Linked DNA regions of Homo sapiens: regions 1 and 3 are each linked to region 2. Evidence: promoter capture Hi-C in 16 types of primary human blood cells and fetal thymus (Javierre and others, 2016). All regions are on one chromosome and are shown on one strand. The core of a region is centred on a gene start or on the middle of the fragment in contact, and the rest is flanking DNA. Distances in the headings are between cores, read along the strand shown. Region 1 holds the start of DEFB116 (defensin beta 116). Region 2 holds the start of DEFB119 (defensin beta 119). Region 3 has its middle 5.4 kb from the start of LINC00028.

Region 1 (3,291 bases), core at 445-2,944, 82 kb before region 2:
CTACAGTCACATCTATTGTTCTTCAGTGCCCTTGAAAATCACACTTAAGAAACTTTCTTCAGAATTTGAAAATAATACTGGATATTTTTCATCCAGTGTTTATTCTCCCCATTTCCTTATTTAAATCACTTTGTTGAAGTACAATTGGCACACAAAAAGCTATACATATTTAATTTATACATTTTGATGAGTTTGGAGATAAGCATACATTACACCCATGAAACCATCATCACAATCTATGCCATAAACCTATCCACGCCTAAAAGTTTTCTCCCACCATCTTATTTATTATTTTTGGTACATCAAATCTTATTTTAAGAACACTTAACATAAAATCCACTCCCTTGGTAATTTTTGAAATATCCAACACAGTACCGTTAACTATAGGAACTGTGTTGTACAGTAGATTTCTAGGACATATTCATGACAGTATAGTCTCTTCAATAAATGTATTGGGAAAACTAGGTATCTAGATGCAAAATAATAAAATTGGATATTTATCTTACACCATACACAAAAACAAATTCAAAATGGATTAAAGACTTAAATCTAAGACCTGAAACTATAAAACTCCTAGGAGAAAACATAGAGAAAAAGCTTCTTGACGTTGGCCTTGGGAAGGATTTTCTGGATATGACACCAAAGCACAGGCAACAAAAGCAAAAATAAACAAGGGGATTGCAGCAATCTAGAAAGTTTCTGCACAGCAAAGGAAACAGTCTACAAAATGAAGAAACAACCTATGGAATGGGAGAAAATATTTGCAAATCATATATCTGAGAAGGAGTCAATATTCTCCTTATTTCAATAGCCACAACCCTGCTGTGATGAATTCAACTGTCTTACTCAAGCTTAATCACCCCCAAACCCAGGCTAAGTCAATCCCTGCCCAGATAAACCTCACATACCCATGACTGAATAAGATACCCACTTTAGGCAAACACTAACTACAACTCAAGCCCTACCTCTTCTAATAACCACCAAAAGCCCAACTGCAAAACATACAAACATAACACTATCCAAGCCACCCAACCCCATTCACAGCATCAATCTAAAACACAACCCAGCTACAAACCTCTCTATACCCCAACTCCCAGTTGCACCAACTCTACCCCAGCTCCATTCAAGAAAAAATACCATTTCCTCTCTAGAATGCACCAAAACATCTATTCAGCCCAACCTATAAATACAATTATTCACCCCATGCTCATCCCCACTCACTTTTTGGATATTACCCTATCTCTAAGGTCTTACAACCTCCCCACCTCAACTCCCTACCCAACTCCAAACTGCTATACCCCTCCTATAGCTCCTCAACTTGCACACAGTCTCTCACACCTAACTCATGAATTAAGCCCCCATCCCAATGACAGCACTACCTAAAATGTTCCATGCTTAGACTGTCCACTATGCCAGGATCAACAACCTCTTCAATTTGTCTTGGCAGAGCAGAACCAGGGGAGATCTTTACATGAAATTAACCTTGGGAATAACATCTGTGACCCACCTGAGACCAGAAAAGGCTTTAGGTGTTGCCCACTATATGTGAGTAGGAGTCACTGCAGAGGTCACCAAGATACCAGTACCACATGCAAGACGCCAGAACCTTTGAGAGAGGCCTGAGTTACCTGGAGTCTTTTGAGCCAGGATCATAAGGATGGCAATGGTCATTAAACAGGGCTTCATGACTGACATGTTCCACCAGAATGAAGGGCTGTGTTGCAGGTGACCAAACAGAGATCACTGTAGCAGAGCAGTAGCCCGCCTTTATTAGTTTTGGAAATGCGTCAGGGTTCTGTGCAGTGAACTAAAAGGGATGGGAGATACCTGATGTCAGGCAGGAAGAAGGACAACATGTATCACTTATCTGAGCTGGATACTCTGTGTAAGCGTGGGAGACTTGCCAGCAGTGCTCATGTCTGTGTGGGCCTTTCTTCCCATTAAGAAATAAAGACAAATTAGAGCCAGTTGGCATTTTGTGTGAAACGAATTTGAATGAATGAATCAACCAAGCAAGCAAGCAAACTTGAAAAAACTTATAAACAATTAGATAAGAAATAAGCACGTGTATACCTATGTGAGGCACGTGTATACCTATGTAACAAACCTGCACGTTCTGCACATGTACCCCAGCACTTAAAGTATAATTGTAAAAAAAGAAATAAATAATTATTTTTAACTGTAGTCACCATGCTGTGCCCACAGAACACCAGAACTTATTCCTCCTATCTAACCGAAAGTTTGTACCCATTGACCAATGTCTCCCCTTTCCCCATCCACCCTCCCTCGAGGCTCTGGTAACAACCATGCTAATCTCTACGTCTATGAGTTCAATTTTTTTAGATTCCACATCTAAGTGAGATCATATGGTATGTGTCTCTCTGTGCCTGCTTTATTTCACTTCACATAGTGTCTTCTAGGTTCATTCATATGATTGCAAATAACAGAATTTTCTGTTTTTTAAAGGCTGAATAGTACTCCAGTATCTATAGTTAATAATAATGTAAAGAGCTAAAAGAAAGATTTTTAAATGACCTCATCACAAATAAATAATAAATATTTGAGGTGATGGACATGCTGATCTCTCAATTAATTGATCCCTTTATTATTATATAATGACCTTCTTTGTCTCACTTTGTGGTTTTTTACCTAAAGTCTATTTTTTCTGTTGTAAGAAAAGCTGTTCCTGCTCTTTTCTGGTTTCTTTTTCCATGGAACATCTTTTTCCATCACTTAACTTTCAGCCTATGTGTTTCCTTAAAACTGAAATGAGTCTCTTGTAAGCAAAATACAGTTGAGTCATTTAAAAAAATCAATTCAGCCACTCCTTCAATTGGCAAACTGAATCCATTTACATTCAAAGTAAGTATTGATAGGTAAGGATTTACTTTTGCCATTTTGTTCATTCTTTTCTGGTTATTTTATACATCCTTTGTTCCTTTCTTCCTCTTTTGCTATCTTCCTTTGTGATTAGATTATTTTCTATATTAGAATGCTTTGATTCCTTTCTTCTTATCCTTTGTGTATCTACTGTCAGTTTTTGCTTTGTGATTACTATAAGGGTTACACAAAACATATGTTGTTATAACCGGCTGTTTAAAGCTGATAACCACTTAACTTTGGTTGCAAAATATGATTCTACATTTTTATTGTATCTCTCCTGATAATTTATGTTTCTGATGTCACAATTTACTGTTTATATTGTGTGTATCCCTTATCAGATTATTGTAACTTATTATTAATAGTTTTGTATTTTGTTTTATACTCAATATATTAGTGACTTATCATCTT
Region 2 (3,483 bases), core at 597-3,096:
TTAAATCTCTCAGCTCCCACCATGTTCTCCCCAGTCCACTCCTGACTCAATAGCCTCTCCTGCAGCTGGTAGATGGGGAATCATCTTCAAGACTGTAATGATCACACCATCGCTATGACCCAGCCCTAGTGACTTCTCTCGACTAGCTCTTCACCTCCCCCTGCCATCCCCCCACCCTCAATCCATTTGAAGTATCATTCCTTATGATTGACAGACACCAGAAACAAATTTGTGAGTTTTAATGAAATGTGGACCCTAAGCAACCTGAAACAAAGTCATTTCTATCTATTAGTTATATTTGTCTTCATTTTTGGAGCTGTTGTGGACATCTGAGGAGTGGTCCAGCCAAGGATTCCATGAATTGTTACTGGTTGGATTGTTAAATAACGACTAGGAACACAGCACCGTTTACGATTTCGGCAGCGTATGATGCTGTCTTCACCATCTTTGCACAACAACCGGCAGTGTCCATCCATCCAACACTCTACTTTGGGGCATATGAACAACAATTAAGCAGATGTTAGTATCCCTCAAGCGGAGAGAAAAGACAAGGCAGAGGAGGAACAGGAGGACAGGGAAGAAGAGAAGAAAGCCAGCTGAGTGAGTAATGCCAGACCCAGTCCCAGGAAAAGAGAGAAGAGACCTTGAGAGGGAAGAGAACTGAGACAATGGTTCCAACTGAGAGCTCCGAAGTTTTTGGGAGAGCCTTTTTTGGACTTCTCACCCTTCTGTCTTCCTAGCCCCCAACTTCCTACTCCTTACTTTGGAATCAACTGAAGCTAATTAATGTCCCACCTAGCAGAGCTAGGGATGAAGGGAAAAGGACATGATCACCTGTAATATTAGGGAACGAAGAGGATTCACTCACATTACACAGACCCTGTTTCTTATCAATAACCTGACCCTATTTCACATAAGCCCAACAAGCCTCAGCTCCAGCCGCATCCCAATCTGCAATCTTCCTTGACCCTATATTAACCCAATTCAAACTCAAACTCATTCAGGCCTGCCTTAATTAGAACTCCCAGCCTTACTCAACTCAATGCCCCCAAGCCCCAACTCCAAGCCAAACCCTAATCTAATCTAATCTAACCCTAATCTAATCAAGTCACTAACCTCAATTCCCAGCAGTATGCCATGACCAAGCTGAACCCAATCACCCTGCAGCATCCAGCACCGACTCCCAGCCTCAGCCCAAGCCCCAGCCTAATCCTCAACACCAGCTCCACTCAACCCCAAATCCCATCCTGTCTCCAACTCTGCCCTAAACCATCAGGGAAGCCCAGCTCCTCACCTCCAGCTCATCCTAATATTCCTTCTATCACTCCAATCCCAAGGTTTTTCCTCCACATCACAACTCACCCCAGCTTCCACTCTAGTCTCCCGAAGTCCTCAACAAGTCCCCAACCTGCACCCACGCTTTGCCCCTCAAACCTCTCCCAAGCTCCCACCAGGATACCACCCTGGCCCTCAAGCACCAGATGCTCCAAACATCTATCATCCCACCACTCTGGCAAAAAAGAATCAGAGAGAGATATTAACTTGAGATGATCCTGGGCAAACCTCCCGAAGCTGCAGGAGAGAAGGAAAGGCTTCAGATGATGCCCACAGTGAGAGGGAAGGGAAAGACGGGAAGCCCATGACCAGGAACCCAGACCCCCGAGAGAGGTTCACGTTACCTGATATCACTGGTTCTTCTATGGCCAGAAGGATGGCAAGAAACAGGTAAAGAAGTTTCATGGCTGGCAGACCTGAGAGGAGGAGGTGGCTGAGCTGCAGGGGAAGGAAATAGGGTTCCCTGCAGCACGGCAGAGATGAGCTTTGCTTTTATCAGCAGGGCTGTGGGCAGTGAATTAGAACAGGAGGGGATTTATATGAGGTCATCCAGGCCAAAGGACAGTGTGTAGCAGATGTCTCAGCAAAGCACAAGATGAGAGTGTGGGAAACTGGCCAGTACCAATGCCAGTAAAGGGACAGGTCAATTAAAGCCATTTGGCCTGTGAGACCCACAAAGGAATTAATTAATGCATAATAAATACATATCAAGAAATATTTAACTTAAAAATTACTTTGCACTTCTCTGATAAATAGTAAGAACATTTATTCAACACATGTATTTGTCTCTTTGTTTCTTCCTTTTGAATTATTTAGTCAGATATCTGGACAATTCTATTGGGGTGTTGTTGGGTACTTGCTGATTTGCAAGAGCTCTTCAGTGCTGTTATTATATTAACTGTCTTGTCATGTTTGGTGACAATATTGTTCTCCATGATTATGTTCTGTTTTAAAATATATTTTTTCCTATAAATGTTTAAAAGATATTTAAATCTTAAAAACTAAATTAAACAGGCCAGGTGTGGTGGCTCACACCTGTAATCCCAGCACTTTGGGAGGCGAAGACAGGGAGATCACAAGGTCAGGAGTTCGAGACCAGCCTGGCCAACATGGTGAAACCCCGTCTCTACTAAAAATACAAAAATTAGCCAGGTGCCTGTAATCCCAGCTACTAGGGAGGTTGAGGCAGGAGAATTGCTTGAACCTGGGAGGCAGAGGTTGCAGTGAGCTGAGATCACGCTATTGCACTCCAGCCTAGGTGACAGAGCAAAACTCCATCTCGAAAATAAAAATAAAAAAATTTTAAAAAATAAATTAAACGAGAATTACTTATTCTCAGCTTTCTAACAGAAGGATACACATGTGTCTCAGCTTTCTAACAGAAGGATACACATGTGTAATGTCTTTCAGAACTTTGAACTTGCCAATCTTGTTTCCAGTTCAGGGCCTTAGCAGTTGTCATCTGTTCTCCCTGTAAAGCTCTTTCTCCAAATCTTCCCATGAAAATCTCCTGCTCATCATTCCATATCATCCCAAATGTCACCTCCTTGGAGAGACTTTCCCTGGCCACCTTAGATAACGGTAACTCCAACCCACAGTCACTCTGGACTGTAATAACTTGGTTTATGATCTTCATATATGTATCTATTCTTTTAAATTTTATTTTACATGTTTGATTTTTGTCTCTCCACTTAGAATGTCAGAAACCTGGCTTATAACCCCAGTACCCATAACATCACCTGGTGTATTAAGATACTTATTCAACTGTTTTAACTGATATTCCCCCCAAATAAGAATGATTCCAAAAGACAGACATGGATTTCTTTTTTATGTAAAAGTCTGGGTATGCAGTTAAGTGTGACAGCTTCACCATTCAGCAGGGATCTAGGTTCCTTTTGGCTTGATGCTCTGCCATCCTCAAGAGGCTGCATCATGTGATGACCCTGAGCTGCTCCAGTTCCCACCGTCAAGTTCCCATCCAGCCATCAGGAAAGGAGGAGTGATGGAAGTGAAATGCAACACCTTTCCCTTTAAGGACACCACTCAGAAGTTTCACCCCTCGGCTTGGCACAGTGGCTCACACCTGTGATCCCAGCACATTGGGAGGCCAAGGTCGGTGGATCATTTGAGGTAGGAGTTCAAGACCAG
Region 3 (3,703 bases), core at 432-2,931, 100 kb after region 2:
ATTAAATGAAGTTTTTAGTACTTAAGAAAGAACCACTATATGCCATTGGTAATTTACTTCCCCTCTCTAGGCCTCAGTTTTCTCATCTGGAAAGTGGGGATATTAATAGTACTTCTTGGCCAGGCACAGTGGCTCATGACTGTAATCCCAGCACTTTGGGAGGCCGAGGTGGGCGGATCACCTGAGGTCAGGAGTTCAAGACAAGCTGGCCAACATGTTGAAACTCCATCTCCATTAAAAATACAAAAAAAGTTAGCTGGGCATGGTGGCACGTGCCTGTGTTCCCAGCTGCTCAGGAGGCTGAGGCAGGGGAATCACTTGAATCCTGGAGGCAGAGGTTGCAGTGAGCCGAGATCATGCCCCTGCACTCCAGCCTGGGCGACAGACCAAGACTCTGTCTCAAAAACAAAAAAAAAAATAGTATTTCTCACTAAGGGTCGATGTGAGAATTCAATCAGGTTGGCTATTTGTTAGCATGATGCTTTGCACTCAGTAAGCACTCAATAAATTGTAATGCATTTCCATGCATTACTTTATACTTTTTCCCACAGATATATTTTGCTAAGGCAAAGTATTGGATGCTTTTAAACATCATACTATATGTATCCTTCAGCTTTATTATTTTTCACATTCAACATTATATTTATGAGATTCCTTGTGTTGAAATCTGTAACTATTCTTTTTCATCACTGCACAGTATTCCACTGTATGAACATATAAGATTTATTTATCTTTTCTTCCTCTTGATGGGCTTTTTTTCTGCTATAAATAATGCACTATGAACATTGCATGTGCCTCTTTGAGCACAAATATGAGAGTTCCTCTTTCCATCTTTCCACTCTGCCATCTTCTGGGTCTCAGCTTGCCCTGGGATAGCTACCCTTAGGGTCCCAATATGGCCACCCCAGTTTCAGGCATGAAACGTGGACATGACAAGGTCCAGGCAAAGCAAAAAGGTTGTCTCTTCCTCAGCATGTCCCTTTCATCAGCAAGGAAACTCTTCCAGTTCTCACTGGCCAGAATCTGGTTACATGGCCACCTTCAAACTAATCAGTGGCTTAGGTTAATCAGGGTTTGCATAAAGTACAACATGACCACACCAAGAAGAAAAGCTAGAGCTGGGTTAACACCCCAAGTGCTCTAGTCAGGCAGTCAAGGGTGCATGCTCTTAGCTTTTCCAGTCTTACAAAACAGTCCAGAGTGAGTGTGACCATTCCAAATCCAGTCCACTTCAGGGTCTACCCAACTCTGTGAATGAGGATAGATGCCTTTTCACAGAATTGTCTGGAATGAAACTTTGGGAGGCCAAAGTGGGCAGATCACCTCAGGTCAGGAGTTCAAGACCTGCCTGGCCAACATGGTGAAATCCTGTCTCTACTAAAAATACAAAAAAAAAAAAAAATAGCGAGACACGGTGGTGCGGGCCTGTAATCCTAGCTACTTGGGAGGCTGAGGCAGGAGAATCCCTTGAACCAAGGAAGCGGAGGTTGCAATAAGCCAAGATTGCACCACTGCACTCCAGCCTGAGCAACAGAGCAAGACAATGTTTCCAAAAAAAAAAAGATTGTCTGGAAAGCAATTTTTGAGTCTTACATACACACATACACATGCACACACATTAATTCCAAAACTGAAACCAGGATTCACTAACTCAAATGCTCACAGAGTCAGACCAATAATATAAGTCAGTGAAGTCAACTGGGTAGAGGACATTAGGCAGCATCAAGTCTATGGCAAACTGGAATCAGCTGCCTTGCCTAAAAGGAGGATACGAACTAAGCTGCCTGTGACTACTGTTGGAATATGAACCCAGTGTTGCCAGATACCGCATGTCAGTTTTTCTAAGAAAGGCAGAGAGCCAGATCTTTATGTGAAGTATCCCAATCCTTTTGTTTTGAGGCAGGGTCTCACTCTATTGCCCCAGGCTAGAGTGCAGTGGTGCGATCACAGCTCACTGCAGCCTCAACCTCCCAGGCTCAGGGGATCCTCCTGCCTCAGCCTCCAAGTAGCTGGGCCACAGGCATGCACCACCAGGCATAGCTAATTTTTTTTTTCTTTTTTTGTACAGTCAGGGTCTCTCTATGTTGCTCGGGCTGGCTTCAAACTCCTGGACTCAAATGATCCTCCCGTCTTGGCTTCCCAAAGTGCTGGGATTACAAGTGTGAGCCACTTCACCCAGCCCTAATTCTTTTTTATTTTTTTTTTTTGAGATGGAGATTCGCTCTTGTTGCCCAGGCTGGAGTGCAATGGTGCGATCTCAGCTTACAGCAACCTCCACCTCCCAGGTTCAAGCGATTTTCCTACCTCAGCCTCCCGAGTAGCTGGAACTACAAGCATGCACCACCACACCCAGCTAATTTTTTGTATTTTTATTAGAGATGGGGTTTCTCCATGTTGATCAGGCTGGTCTCGAACTCCCGACCTCAGGTGATCTGCTCACCTCGGCCTCCCAAAGTGCTGGGATTACAGGCATGAGCCACCGCGCCTGGCCACCCAGCCCTAATTCTTAAATAATTATTGCTGATTGTCATTTTGTGTTTTTTTGTTTGTTTGTTTTTTGAGATGGAGTCTCACTCTGTCACCCAGGCTGGAGTACAGTGGCGCGATCTTGGCTCACTGCAACCTCTGCCCCCCGGATTCAAGAGATTCTCCTGCCTCAGCCTCCCGAGTAGCTGAGATTACAGACACCTGCCACCGTGCCCGGCTATTTTTTTTTTTTTTTTGAGACTGTGTCTCACTCTGTTGCCCAGGCTGTAGTGCAGTGGCGTGATCTCGACTCACTGCAAGCTCTGCCTCCCGGGTTCACACCATTCTCCTGTCTCAGCCTCCCAAGCAGCTGGGACTACAGGCACCCGCCACCACGCCCGGCTATTTTTTTTTTTTTTTGTATTTTTAGTAGAGACGGGGTTTCACCGTGTTAGCCAGGATGGTCTCAATCTCCTGACCTCGTGATCCACCCGCCTCAGCCTCCCAAAGTGCTGGGATTACAGGCATGAGCCACCACGCCTGGCCTAATTGTGATTTTTTTTTTAAACCCTGGTGCCTGGGCACGGTGGTTCACACCTGTAATCCCAGCACTTTGGGAGGCCGACGTGGGTGGACCACTTCAGGTCAGGAGTTCGAGACCGGCCTGGCCAGCATGGTGAAACTCAGTCTCTACTAAAAATACAAAAAATTAGCCAGGCATGGTGGCAGGCGCCTGTAATCCCAGCTACTCAGGAAGCTGAGGCAGGAGAATTGCTTGAACTCGGGAGGCAGAGGTTGCAGTAAGTTGAGATTGTGCCACTGCACTCCAGCCTGGGCAACAGAGCGAGACTCCATCAAAAAAAAAAACAAAAAAAAAACAAAACAAACAAACAAAAAAAACAGCTTGGGACGGGTACAGTGGCTCTTGTCTGTGATCCGTTCACTTTGAGAGGCCAACACCAGTGGATCTCTTGACCCCAGGAATTCAAGACCAGCCTGGGCAGCACAGTGAAACCCCATCTCTACAAAAATTACAAGAATTAGCCAGATGTAGTGGCCACACCTGTAGTCCCAGCTACTTGGGAGGCTGAGGTGGGAGGATCCCCTGAGCCCTCGAGGTCAAGGTTACAGTGAGCCGTGATCGCACCACTGCACTCCAGCCTGGGCGACAGAGGAAGACCCTGTCTCTAAAAAAAAATAAAATAAAATAAAAGGGAAAAGTTCAGAATAGGTTTTA

The links. Contacts are between HindIII fragments. The CHiCAGO score rates a contact against its expected background, and 5 or more counts as called.
Region 1: a contact is called between the fragment with the promoter of DEFB116 here and the fragment with the promoter of DEFB119 in region 2, in 1 of 17 cell types (M1 macrophages). The highest score is 5.3, in M1 macrophages.
Region 3: a contact is called between a fragment that was not itself captured here and the fragment with the promoter of DEFB119 in region 2, in 1 of 17 cell types (M1 macrophages). The highest score is 6.2, in M1 macrophages.

What each region holds. Positions count from the first base shown.
Region 1 is chr20:31,306,891-31,310,181 of GRCh38, forward strand. It overlaps DEFB116 (defensin beta 116), which reads right to left and starts at 1,695. Exons shown (of 2, transcript NM_001037731.1): 1 at 1,629-1,695. The coding sequence starts at 1,695. The HindIII fragment of the contact is 2,687 bases long and covers 850-3,291 here.
Region 2 is chr20:31,388,744-31,392,226 of GRCh38, forward strand. It overlaps DEFB119 (defensin beta 119), which reads right to left and starts at 1,847. Exons shown (of 2, transcript NM_153289.4): 1 at 1,680-1,847. The coding sequence starts at 1,740. The HindIII fragment of the contact is 16,203 bases long and covers 1-3,483 here.
Region 3 is chr20:31,489,281-31,492,983 of GRCh38, forward strand. No RefSeq gene overlaps it. Among named protein-coding and RNA genes, the nearest start is that of LINC00028, 5.4 kb to the left of the region's middle. The HindIII fragment of the contact is 4,898 bases long and covers 1-3,703 here.